Linked DNA regions of Homo sapiens: region 1 is linked to region 2. The links are contacts of gene promoters, found by promoter capture Hi-C in human tissues and cell types (Jung and others, 2019). All regions are on one chromosome and are shown on one strand. Each heading gives the region's core, a stretch centred on a gene start or on the middle of the fragment in contact. The rest is flanking DNA. Distances are from core to core; before and after follow the strand shown.

Region 1 (7,100 bases), core at 793-3,292, 650 kb after region 2:
TTCCTTTTGAATTCATAAAGAGTAAAAGCAGAGTCTTTAACTTCAGGGAGAGCCCCGTCCTTTTTTTTTTTTTTTTTTTTTTAAGAGATTTCACTTAGGTCAGGTCTTCTCAGGATAATCTTCTATTTGATTGATCTGAGACCTTAATTACATCTGCAAAATCCTTTCACTTTTGCCATATTCTATCCGTAGAAGCAAGCCATAGTTTCCACCCACATTAAAGGAAAATGAATTATTCAGGATAATAGTACTAGGGAGAGAGGATCATTGGGGCCACTTTAGGACTCTATTTGCCCCAGGGATAATAATATCTAAAAAAAATAGAATTCTTGTTATAATTAAATAATGTAGCATAAGTAAGCACTTGTCAGAGCCTGTACCCAAAATACAGTTCAGTTATGAAAAATAATATTAGACGATGTGGGGGTTGGGCAAGGGTGGAAGCAGGGGTCTGATGGTGAAGAAGGAATTAAAGATAAATATAACACCTCCTGGAACTTTGACTCAAATTTCAGAAAGAGAGATACAGAAGATTTAATGTAAAACAGATCAGAATGTATGAGATAATAGATGGCAGCACACAAGACATTTACACCCTTCAAAAATAGTAAGTCAAAATTAATAACAGACCTAAATATAAAATGCAAAATAAAATTCCTAGATGATAAGCAGAGAAAATTTTTGGTATTGTGATGAAGTTTTAGAAATAACACCAAAGGCAAGATCCATGATGAATTAGACTTCGTTAAAATTAAAAAATTATGCTCTGTAAAAGAAACTGTCAAGAGAATGAAAAGATAAGGCATAGACGGGAAGAAAATATTTACAGAAGATATACCTGGTAAAGGACAATTACCCAAAATATACAAAGATCACCTAAATCTCAACAATACGAAAACATCCCTATTAAAATACGGGCCAAACACCTTAACAGACACTTCACCAAAAAAGATAGAGAGATGTAAAATAAGCATAGGAAAAATTGCTCTACACCATATATCATCAGAGAAATCCAAATTAAAACAAACAATGAAATATCACTACGTGCCTATTAGAATGGCCAAAAACCCAGAACCGTGACAACATGGAATGCTCGCAAGGATGTAGGGCAACAGGAGTTCTTATTCGTTGCTGCTGGGAATGCAAAATGGTACAGCTACTTTGGAAAACAGTTTGGCAGTTTGTCACAAACTAAACATACTCGTATATGTAATTCCGAAATCATGCTTATTACTATTTACCCAAATGAGTTAAAAATTTAAATACACTAATTGGTGTGGCAGTGTCCAGGGCTGATGTCCCCCGTGGAGGCAGGGGGAAGCTGCATATGATGTTCTTGTGTTTCAGAAAAGCACAGAGCAAGGTTTTGTAGAGAAGATTGAGAAGTACTGGATAACAGTACAATCAAGTGCTTTTTATAGATGTTTGAACTTGTTCCTGCCCATGCCCTGTGGGGTACTTAGCTCTAATCTGATTAAGCATTTTTATGGATGACTCAAATATAGACATAGCAGGTGGTTTCACGAAGCAGGCGCAGACGATCTTGCAGATGATCCTGCTACCACCAGGGACAGAGCTGGTCTGGAGGCTGCTACAGCTCTACAGACATTTGCCGCTGCAGCTGCCGACCAAGGGCATCCAGGAGCATTATAAGCATGCTGTCAGGCAGAGTTTCCAGCTTCATTCAGATGAAGACAACCCTGATATATATATATCTATCTGAGAACCCAGAGAGTGAGCTATGATAAAGACATTGAAGTTCAGAAACCTCTCTTCTGGAGCTTAGCAGCAGCAGTGGCAATTTTGAAAGATCCCCTGGCATTGTTGGGAGAAAGAGCTGTTGGGAGGAGATGCTGACCTTGCTCAGAAGGCCCTTCTTGCCAGAGTCTTGTTTCCAGCATCACTTACGTTTGCACTTCTAGTTGGTTATGACGTGAAATTTGGGGAAAATGTGGTATTTTTTTTCTTTGTGTTTTTAAAGTTTTTCTTTTCTTTTCTCTGAAAGTGATTCATTGATTCTGGAGGTCTCTTTACCATTTTTTGAGTCCCAGAGCTGGTGTCCCCTCGGGTGGTAGCCTGTACAAGGGAAAAAGCATAGATAGATTTTAGAACCAGAAAGATCTGGAGCTGAATCCCAGCTCAGTGGCTTTTCAAGGGTATTGTCTTTGAACTCACCTTCCTCCTTTGTGAGAATAAAATAAGGTGGAGTTGAAGCACCTCACACAGAATATGGCACAGGGTAGTGCCTGTAAGTGTCCTCTCTGAGGATGCTGTCCTGCCCTGCCCCTTCCTGTGCTCCCACAGTGTTCTGCACATCTCTGCTCCAGCATGCACTGTATTGGGTCTTAGTTATTTGTTTGTAAGCTTGTCCTGTTCCTGCTTATAGCCCCTGAGTCCTCACAGTTGTCACACACTAAGCAGTCTGACAAGGAGCTGCTCTTCCTGACCACTGTATCTCCATGCCCAAGGAGGTAGAAGCCCTGGGCCTTTCCTTCCAGGAGTTAACAGTGTCCTTGAAGTGGTGCGATACATAATGTGTGAACCAAGGAAGGACGCCAGAGCAGCTGTAGTGGACACTGGCCTTTTCAGTCTTCTGTGCACCTGCGATCTGTCTCAACTGGATCTTCCTTGCCTTGCCACCATGGTGGAAGAATGGAAGGGAAAGAGAGTAGGAATGTGGGCTCAGGGAGAACTGGACAGAGCAGCCAGAAGATACAGAGAGAAGCCTCAGTAGGACTTGAGTATTCCCCAGAGGCACTCAGCCACAGGGATGATCTAGCATGTGTTTGTATCCTTGCAATTATGTGACTTAAGGTGACTCAGAGACATCTATATGTGTGTATGTACTCCACTGACTAACAATGAAGTAAATATATGAATTTGTGGGAAATAACGTATATACACACAAAAGTCTGCACAGATAATTATAACATCTTTATTCATAATTGTCAAAACATAGAAGTAACCAAGATAAGATGCGTTTCCATAGATGAATATTTTAAGTTAAAATAACTCAGGTACATCCACACAATGGAATTTTATTCAGCACTAAAAAGAGATACCAAGCCATGAAAAAAACATGGAGAAACCTTAAATATGTATTATCATGTGAAATAATCCAATCATAAAAAGATACATACTATGTAAGTCCAACTACATGACACTCTGGAAAAGATAAAATTGAGACATTACAATGATTGGTGTTGCTAGAACTTAGTGCGGAGGGAGGAATAAATAGGTGAAGTACAGAAGATTTTCACAGTAAAACTATTCTCTATATTACAGTGGTGTATGTGTAATTATATATTTGTCTATACTTACAGAATGTAGAACACCAAAAGTGAATTCTAATGTAAACTAGACTCAGGTGATAATTTCGTGTCAATGCGGGTTCATCAAATGTAATAAGTGTGCCACTCTCGTAGGGGATATTAATAATAAGGAAGGTTATGTGTGTCAGGACAGTGTTATATGGGAAATCTCTGTACTTCTGCTTAATTTTGCTGTGAACCTAAAAGTTCTCTAAAAAAAAGTCTATTTTTAAAATTGATTATGTTAGCATGACATATCTTTAAAGAAAGCTTGAATAACCATATTAATTTCAGACAGAGCAGATTTCAAATTAAGGAAAGTTATTAGGGATAGAGGGGATATTACATAAAGATCAAAGGGATGATTCTCCAAGAATACCTGACAACCCTTAATAGGTGTGAATGTAAAAACAGGTTCAAAATTCATGAGACAACATATAGAACTGCAAGAAGAAATAGATAAATCTGGAGTTTCACACCTCTTTATCAATAATTGACAAATTTAACAGGCAAATAATCAGTAAGGATATAGTGAAGTGAATGACACCATTAATCAATTAGATCTGTTTGACATTTATATAATACCTCATTCCCAAACAGCAGAATACACATTTTTCTCAAACCTATATGCAACATTCTCCAAGACAGATCATATTCTGGGCCATAAAACACCTCTTAACACACTTAAAGTATAAAAATTATACAAAATATGTTCTCAGATCACAGTGGAATCAAATTAAAAATTAATAACTGAAAATATCTGAAAAATCCCAAATATCGGGAGATTAAACAACACACATTTAAAGATCATGTGGGTCAAAGAAGAATTCTAAAGAGAAATTAAAAATATTTTGAAATAAAAGTAAAACACAACTTAAAATTTATGGAATACAGAAAAACAGTGCTTACAGGGAAATTTATAGAATTGAATACATATATTAGGAAACAATGATCTAAAATCAATAACCCAAGCTTCTACTTTAGGAAACTAGAAATAAGAGTCAATTAAATTCAAACTAAGCAGAAAAAAATTAAAAATTGTGGCACGTATCAATGAAATTGAAAACAGAAAATTAATAGAGAAAAATCAAGGAAATAAAGAAGTAAAATTGCTAAACCTGTAGCCAGGCTGTATTAGTTTGCTGGGGATGGTATAACAAAACAGCAAAGCCTGATAGCTTAAACAATAGATATTTATTTTCTCATAGTTGTGGAGGCTAGAGGTCCAGGATCAAAGAGTAGGCAATTTTAGTTCCTCCTGAGGCCTTTCTCCTCGACTTGCACATAGCTGCCTTCTTGCTGTGTGCTCACACAAATGTTCCTTGTTGTGTGCAGAACCCTGTTGTCTCTTTATGTGTCCAAATTTTCCCTTCTTATAGGGACTTGCATTAGATTAAATCAGGGTCTGTCCTGATGGCCTCATTTCAACATAGTCACCTCTTCAGAGCTGTCTTTCCAATTGTAGTCACATGCTGAGGTACTAGGAATTAGAACTTTAACATATGAATTTTGGGGGCACAATTCAGCCCATAACAAAGCCTAACCAAAAAGAAAAAATAGGGAAAACACACATTTGTAATATCAGAGATAAAATAGCAGCCATCACCACTGTTCTAATAAGTATTAAGAGAATTTTAAAGAAATAAAGGAACAACTCCCTACTCTCAAATTTGTTAATATAGACTAAATGTACCAATTTCTTGAAAACACAAACTACCAAAAATAATACGAGGATAAATAATTTGAAAAGGGCTATATGTGTTAGAAGAATTATTGTTGTCAAAGGCTGCGAAGGGTATTGGGGAGGTGGGGGAGAAGTGGGAATGGTTAACAGGTACAAAAATATCATTAGAGTGAATAAGATCTAGCATTTGATAGCACCACTGAGTGATTACAGTCATCAATCATTTATTGTACATTTAAAAATAACTAAAAGTATAATTGGAATGTTTGTAACACAAAGCAATAATAAATGCTTGAGGTGACAGATACTGCATTTACCCTAATGTGCCTATTACACATTATATTCCTGTATAAAAAAAATTTGAATCAGTGATAATAACCTTCCAAAAATGGAAATCACCAGGCTTGGATGGTTTCACTAGTGAATTCCACTGAACATTAAAAAAAGATTATGATTGTGTAATCTTTTTTTCCAGAAAATTAGAAGCAGAAGGAACACTTCCTAACTAATTCTGTGAAGCCAGAATTACCCTAATACCAAAACCAGACAAAAACAACAAAAAAAAGAAAAATTATAGAGGGATCTGTTAGATGAACACAAAGAAAAAATTTTTCAACCAAACATTAGCAAGTGAAACTGAAAATGTATAAAAAGAATTATATAACACTACCAAGTAGTATTTATTTCAGGTTTTTCAAGGATGGTTCAACATTAAAATAATAAAGAGGTAAACCAACAACAATTACATAGAAAGCGCTAAAATAGAAAGGACAATTTTTCAATGGAAAATTGCTAAACAAGCAAGATAGTAAATTCTGATAGATTTGGCTAGTCTTCTTCTGCGACCTTAAGGAAAAAAAAGGGGCTTATTTTAGTCCATTCAGGTTTCTATAGAAATATACCATAAACTTGGTGGCTTACAAACAATAAATATTTATTTCTCACAGTTCTGGAGGCTGGGAAATCCAAAGTTGAGGTGCCACAGAATCTGTGTCTGGTGAAGGCCTGCTTCCCAATCAAAGGCCATTTCTCACTGTAACCTCCCATACAGGAAGAGTGAGGGAGCTTTCTGGGGTCTTTTTTATTAGGACATGTATGTATCCCATTCATAAAGGCTCAAGACTTCATCATCTCTGAAAAGCCATACCTCCTAATACTATCATCTTCAGAGTTAGGATTTCAATATATGAATTTTGGGGAGACATTTCAGGGCAGGTATCCTTAATTAAATTTAAGAATGTAACTATCGCAAGGACAAAAAACCAAACACCACATGTTCTCACTCATAGGTGGGAATTGAACAATGAGAACACATGGACACAGGAAGGGGAACACCAAACACCGGGGACTGTTGTGGGGTGGAGGGTTGGGGGAGTGGGGAGGGATATCAGTAGGAGATATACCTAATACTAAATGACGAGTTAATGGGTGGAGCACACCAACATGGCACATGTATACATATGTAACAAACCTGCACATTGTGCACATGTACCCTAAAACTTAAAGTATAATAATAATAAAATTAAAAAAAAAAGAATGTAAGGCAAATGCATGATAGCCTGTAGGGGCTTCTAGAATCAACTTTAAGAAAAACAGTTTGACTGTAGTTGTCAAAAAGCACCAAGAACAGTAAGTTCACTCATAGTAACACTCATAGTGCAGTGTAAAATGGGGAACTGTATTTTAGGAAATATAAACAGGAGGAAATTCATACAGAAGGTATCACTGAATCAGGAAATTTGGATATGATCTGTATTAATTCCAGTGATATTTGTATCTTCCTGGTACATATTTTGTGGAAGAAATAAGCTTATTTTAAAAAACTGGCCTGGGATAGAAAATTATACAGATCTTGCCCAGTTCCTGTCCTATCCCAAAGACTGTTTACTTCTTTATTGTGAGCAAAGTAGCTTTCCAGTAGAGTCTTATTTTTTTAATGGAGGCCTATTATTAGTAGCCAAATTCTAAATTATTGAAGCACATTTTACATTAAGGAAACTATTCTTTTCATTGGAAAGAATTTCATACTTATATCAAGAAATCTTACTTCAGACTTTCTGGCCAAGATGGATAACTAGAAGCAGCTAGTGTGTGCAGCTCTCATG
Region 2 (6,536 bases), core at 95-2,594:
ATGAATCCTAGAGGATGGAATTAGACAAAGCTTTTTTTGCCCCTGCTTTGACCATTTGGCCTCAGATACGGGTGCCCCAATACTTTAATTTTTCTTCTTTAAAGTTTAAAGTTTTTAAGAAAATGAAATAGCTGGTAAGTGAAAATAGTCAAGAAAACATTGTAATTATGCTATATGTACATGTGCGTTTTTTCTGAAGTGGATTTTCAGAGACACAGTTAGAAGGTGTGCTTCACTGCTTTATTCTGCATATGCCCCAATGAATTCCAGGAGGTCACAGCAGCAGAGTACAACTTTTAAGATTAGAAGAGCTTGCTCTTTAAAGAGTTATTTTTAGCTGGAAGGGAGAGTGTAGACCTCAAAGTGCTGGTAGGTATGTTCTACAGTGGGGATCTAATTTGGAGGTCTTTGGAGATCTGATTCCAGGGGAAGGTCTCAGTGGGGCTCCTCTTGCCTCTGCTGCAGGACTGGGTGGCTCTGCTGATTGTCACTGCCTTGTTTGAGGGGTGGTCTCCATCATCCAGGGGAATTCAGCCTGGGACCTATTGTCTAGAGTGTACATTGTATCTAGGCCCAGACCTGCCAGAGTGTCCACAGCCACACTTGAGGAAAGGACATTCCAGACTCATTAAATATCACAATTCGATTTTGATGTCACTAACTCAGGTTCCTGAGATAAATTTCCATACAATTCCTACAGATTGATATGGATATGTGCATCACCCCAGGAGAGGCTCTGGTGAAGGGCAGGCTTGGAGATGCAATGGGCAAGGTTGGGGAAGAGATACCCTCTTCCGGGTTCCGATTTGTGCCCTGAATTTGGGCAAGCTCAAGGAGCACTGGCAACCCCACCAGCACCAGAAGAAGCTGGTCCTGGCTGTCTCCCGAGACTGGTGAAACTGCTCTGGTGGTGGTGCACTGGAAGGGTGGAGGAAAAAAAACAAAAAACAAAACAGGGTTTGAGGGGGAATGGCAGGGACACGGTAGAGGCACAGAGATACAGAGACCTAGAGTCAGAAATCCTGAGTGAGACACACAGAAAGGCAGAAAAAGGCAGAAAGATGCTGAGGGACAGAGACGCAGACCACAAGAATGACAGAAGAAGGAGACAGAGAGAGAGAGGGAGTGAGAAAGATACTGAGAAATAGGGACAGTAAGGGAGAGACTGAGAAAGACAGAGACAGCCAGAGTCGGAGCACAGAGGCCGAGTCTGGGAGACGCTGGTTGAGTGGGAGGTGTCAGTAGCGAGGGAGGTGGTGACGGCTCGAAGCATCCCCCGTCCTCCTCCTCCCCCTTCACGCTCAGCCCAGCCGGCGGCGAGGAGTCCAGAGGCCAAGGTCGCCCAGTCCTCTCGGCTGTCTCGAGCTGAATGGCTGGCAGTCTGCGGCTCCCCCGCCTCCGGCCCGGCAGCCACAGGTCGGAGGCGCCCGGCGTCGGCGCTCGAGGCCGGCAGGGGCGCCCTGCACCCTCCCGCGCCCTTCCCCGCCCTACGCGACTCCCGGCTGCTCTTCCCGCCACTCCCCTGGGCTTTGCGATCTTCCCTACGCCCCCCGGGAAGGGGGCGCTGCGGCCACCGAAGACACCGCGGGAGCCACTTGTCCCTGTGGGCCCAGCCCGCGAGAGCCTGAGAGCCGGATCTGTTTACACAGGGTACTAATTAGTCTTTGAGGAATCATTCACCCACGTGCCAAAGTAATTGTCCGTGTCAGGAAGGTAGGCGTGCCAAGCCGCGGCTCTGCGGAGAAACCACGACCACCGCGGCCGCCGGAAACCCAAAGCGCTCCAGAGCGTCCCCGGGTGGCCGGGCAGCACCAGGGACAGCGCCCGGGACTCCACTGGGGACCGGCTCCTGGGCTTCCCAGCGTCGCGGGTAGAGGTACAGCTGCTCCGTGTGCCGCAGGCTCCAGATTCTCGCCACCCCACCCCTCCCTCAGAAACTCGGACTGCTCTCGTCTGCCGTGTGGTTCTCTTTTCTTCCGAAAGGCCAGTGTCTTATCTCTCCACTTCAAGTCCAGAGGACTTGCTCAGTCTCCTCCCCTTAAGTCATTTCCACCATCCTCAGGCAGCTGTGGGAAGCCGAGAGTCCTGGACTGTTCGTCCGGGTGCCAGCGCTGGCAGTCCCAGTCCGTCCGGTGCAGCAGCCCGGCGCATTCCCCTCTCTCCCTCCCTCTTGCTCTCCCTCCCTTTCTGTCTTCCTCTCTTTCCTCCTCTACTGCTCCCTCCCTCTCTTGCCTCTTAAGTTTCCTGCACCGTGAATCCAACTGTGCCAAGCCTTGGCTCCCGCGAACCAATCCTGAGCGCGACCCGGGCACTGGGACGGCGACTCCGCCAAAGCTGGACGAGGCAGCCGGACCCGTCTGCGCTCGAGCATGGAGACGGAGCGCCTGGGAGGGCACGTCCGGGGCGCTGGAGACGCCAGGCCCGAGTAGCTTCTCCATGGAGCCTGCCCAGAGCGGTCCCTTCTCGCAGGATTCGCCCCAAGTCCTGTGCGGTACGTACCCTTTGCCTCCGCTGTTCCCGGAGGGTACACCTGGGAGCGGGGTGGTGGGCACGAGGAAGGGACGGCAGGGAGGGGCGCTGGTTAGGAAAGAGAACAAGCCTGGCAGGTGACCCTCACAGCTCGGAGGAGGCTTCTTCTCTAGAAGTTAGCGACCGGCTGTACCCTTTGGCTCGAAAAAAGTAGTGCTAGAGATGTGACTGTGAGCATTCGTGGGTATCTCTGTGTGCGCCAGGGGTTCGAATGGGTAAACTGATCCCTGCTTTCCTGTATGCAAATTGCATTCTCTTTCCCCACCCCCACTTCACCGAACGTGTTGAGGTACCTAGCACCTAATCGCGGTCAGTTCTACCTACCTCTTCCTCTCACCGCGCCCCCCTCGCTCAATCTCTCTCTCTCCCTTTATCTTTCCCCTCTATCTCTCTCTGCTGGTGTGTACGTGTGTGAGCACTGCCAGGGCTGGCGAAGAACCAGCCGCCGCCTTTAGTCCGAGCCGCCGGGCCACCCAACACAAGGGCAGGTCTCGCTGCCGGAGAAGCCTGGGCTCCGAACCAGCCTGCACGCGGCTCAGTGTGCTCCGCCGCCTGGGAACTCGCACCCGAGGAGCGCAGGGGGCAAGGAGCCCCTCACCCTCCCTCTCGTCCGCCCGCCCGCCTCCCCAGCTGCGGACCGCGCGCTTGCTGGTCTCAGGCGCTGGATTTACTCGCTTTTCAATTTTTCGTACCCTCCCTCCCTTTTTTTTTTGGTCCCCCACTCCCCGCTACGACCCCCTTTCCCCGCTTGATTGTCAAGCCTAACCTTGCCCGCGTAGTCATGGGATGTCTAATTTTATTTGCATCTAGGCTGCTGAGAGCGCTCCTTGCTCTGTAAAGTGGATGTCAGGTGGATCTATGTTTCTGAAGGAACAAAGACTCAAAGAAGGCACCGCCAAGGAAGTTTGAGACGCGGGAGAATGCAGGCTGCGTGCTGGTACGTGCTTTTCCTCCTGCAGCCCACCGTCTACTTGGTAAGTCTTGGAAGGTTCGGGGCTTTCGCATTTTTACCCCGGCCGGGAGGCAAGGAAACTGGGGACACGCGGGAGAAGGGTTACGCCGCCAGTTCAGTGAGAGCAGCTTCCTAGCAGCTGTGTTGGAGCAACTTTGGCAAGCTGGTCTCTGGATTCCTGCGGATTTTCCGGGGTTCCCACCCCATTTTCTGCTCCAATCCCCCAGTCTCCTGCGCGTGATTCTTGAAAGGGGCTAGGGCGCCCCAGACACCCTAAACCCAAGGAGGTAGTGAGATGGGGTGCTTTATGTGATAGAGGGCCAACGAGAAGAAGTGGAAGGCAGGAACTCTCAGTAGCTCATGCACAGAGTTTAAACGAAGGGAAGTGGGGGTGTAGTTGGGTGGTGGAAAGAACAAATCTGCCCAGGTCTGTGAGTTTAAAAGTGAATCTACCCACCCACTTCCCCGATTTGGAGATGAGACACATAAAGAAGCGCAGTTAACTTTCTTTGACTTGTAAGGGTTCCGACAGGATAAGTTTAACTATCAGGGGTACTGCAAGCAATCGGAGTTAGGACAGAGATACTCCAGCAAACATGTCCACCTTCCTCTCGTCTCGACCTCCCCTTTTCATCAAATAACTAAATCCCATCTCCAGTGACTAGTCCATTATTAGGGAATGGTAGGCCTTGTCGCCAGGGAGAGAATTCTAAACAAAGCCGCGGTCCTTGTCCTTCAGTAGCAGAGTTTTCCGGGGGGCTGGACTTTGTACACTGCTGGAACTCGGCTCCTGGTTGAAGAGCTTTGTTGTGGTGAATTGGTAGCTGTTTGTGCCATGTTGAGACAAGGAGAATGAGATATTTCAGGTCTGGCTTCTGGGGTGGGAATGGGGGAATGGGGGTAAGGGACACTTGTGCCCTGCTGGTGAAGTTGTGTTCAGTGTCCCGACCCCCATAGCCCATCCTGGGCTGCGGGAGTGCACCGAGGGCTCGCTATGTTCTGTCTAGGGGTGAGGTGCGCTAAAGCAGCCCGAACTCTCTGATGGGCTACACCTCTGATTGGAGGTGATACTGGCGCTCCTCAATCCCAAGAGCCTTAGATAGAACCCATAAGCCTGAAAGAATTGCCATCCCTACAATTGACAGCGTTTCTCGGCCGTTGCCCTGGTGCATGTGGCTGCAAAGCTGCGAGTTGTGTGAATTCTGTGTATGTGAGTGACACGTATATATATGTGTGTGTGAATGTGTATTTAACCGATTTCAGCTTCAATCCAAGAACCCTCAATGTTGCCTGTCTTTGCCCCTTTATCGCCTGACCGTAGCAGCCGCGGACGCCAGAGGGCGCTGCGCATCAGCGTCCTCGCCCACAGGACACCTTGGGGTAAACAGGTGAAAGCCAGGGCAGCCAATCCAAAAGAACAGCCTTTCTGACTCTGTCACCGAAGTCTGTGCCTTTACCCGCTGGAACGCAGGCGGAATGCAAAAAGTGTCCTTCCCATTTCCCATCTTCAATCATTTTCACCCCCACCTGTGTTCAGTAAGCCCACTGACATTGAGAGACCATGGATGGAGGGCAGAAAGTTTGGCCAGAAGAAATATAGAATTTTTTTATTGAGAGATGGGGGGAGGGAATGCAAAGTGAAAGCGACGGGGGCGGGGGGGAGGTAATTTTAAGGATTCCCTTGACCATCGTAACCCGCTTGCCCTTTTCCTCTGCATACCTTTACGCCTGACCTGAACTTGAGGACTGTTCTTACGTCCTTGGGCTGTGCTCACACACACGGCAAGGGCTTGTGGCTATGGTGCAGTTTATTGCTTGGAGCAAGTATTTCGATAGTCTGGAAAATAATCTATCAAAAGCAGAAGTGAAATCAATACTTTGTGTTAAATTTTAAATGTGTTTGTTGGCAGTTAAACCGTTTTCCACTCATTACAACAACAGTGCTGGATTTATTCTAATGCGCTGCGTTCTCAACAACAAGCGCATTAATTCTCCTTTAATTGTAAACTGGGAGCATTTGAAAACCATTCAGTGTGCAAATTATGCTGATTCAATTACCGTTTAGTTACAGACTTCATTACCTGAATGCCTTTTGGCAATACAGAGAAAGGAGACAATTTTTCCAATTTCACTCAAAACAATACGAAATGTGAACAATAAAATAGAGAAGGCTATTTAGAAGTCCGTTCTTTTTTCTCCAATCTAAAGTACTTTTGTGTGTCGGGGACTAGAAACCACATGCACCACAAAAACTACAGCTGATGGCTGTGACCCAAGGCAGTATTTCCAGGGATTGTAATCCCATGGATATTTGCCAGCAGAATTCCGAGCTGTTTTCCTGAAGGAGCAAAAAGCTGACTTCTACCATGGAAATGAATTTAAAAGGGTGAATTGGGCAGTCATTTCGGGATGGTTTTAGGCAAATAAAGAAGTAGAGAGCCTTGATTAAAACTCTAGGGCAATGAACCGATCAAGAAGTGATCAAGGCTTCTTTCTTCATCTATTTCATTAAATACCAGATACAGTTAACTGGATTGATCATTTGTTTGTAGCTGCACATTGGAAGATCTTATCCCTTTGTAAGAACCTGCACTGGATGCATACAGATTGTCAGGAGCTGCTTTAAGTTACATTCAAAGAAGGCAAGAGTGGCAAAACCATTATTTTAATTTTCTCTTGAACTGACATAAGCCAGGGAAGAATTTGATGGATAATTTTTGTCTTTGTGAGCTCACACCACTAGTTAAGTGCCTGCATCACTCTGTTTATGCCTTACCTCTTAGCTGATATCTCAGTGCACCTTGACCTTTAAGCCCATGGTATCCTAGTTATGTTTCCCAGGGAGTAATCACCACATTAAGTCCATGAAACAAGACTTGTCTAGTTATCTCCTAAAGAAATATTTAGGCTTCTGTTTAAAGTGAATACCTTAAATACCCCCAAATTTGAGAATAACTTCTTATGAAAACTCTGCAGTAGGTCAATGCCCCACACCAAGCCACAGTTTCCTACCTGTATTTGGGTGAATGTTTGCAAAGTATGTTTCTGGGCCCGG

The links. The method cuts DNA at HindIII sites, captures the fragments that hold promoters and counts their contacts. A contact is called where the count stands out against the background at its distance.
Region 1: a contact is called between a fragment that was not itself captured here and the fragment with the promoter of NXPH1 in region 2, in 1 of the 25 tissues and cell types used here (H1 embryonic stem cells).

Annotation. Positions count from the first base shown.
Region 1 is chr7:9,082,473-9,089,572 of GRCh38, forward strand. No RefSeq gene overlaps it. Among named protein-coding and RNA genes, the nearest start is that of NXPH1, 650 kb to the left of the region's middle. The HindIII fragment of the contact is 3,780 bases long and covers 153-3,932 here.
Region 2 is chr7:8,432,265-8,438,800 of GRCh38, forward strand. It overlaps NXPH1 (neurexophilin 1), which reads left to right and starts at 1,345. Exons shown (of 3, transcript NM_152745.3): 1 at 1,345-2,491; 2 at 3,340-3,503. The coding sequence starts at 3,450. RefSeq lists enhancers at 1,909-2,456, 2,457-3,004, 3,005-3,552. The HindIII fragment of the contact is 8,604 bases long and covers 1-6,536 here.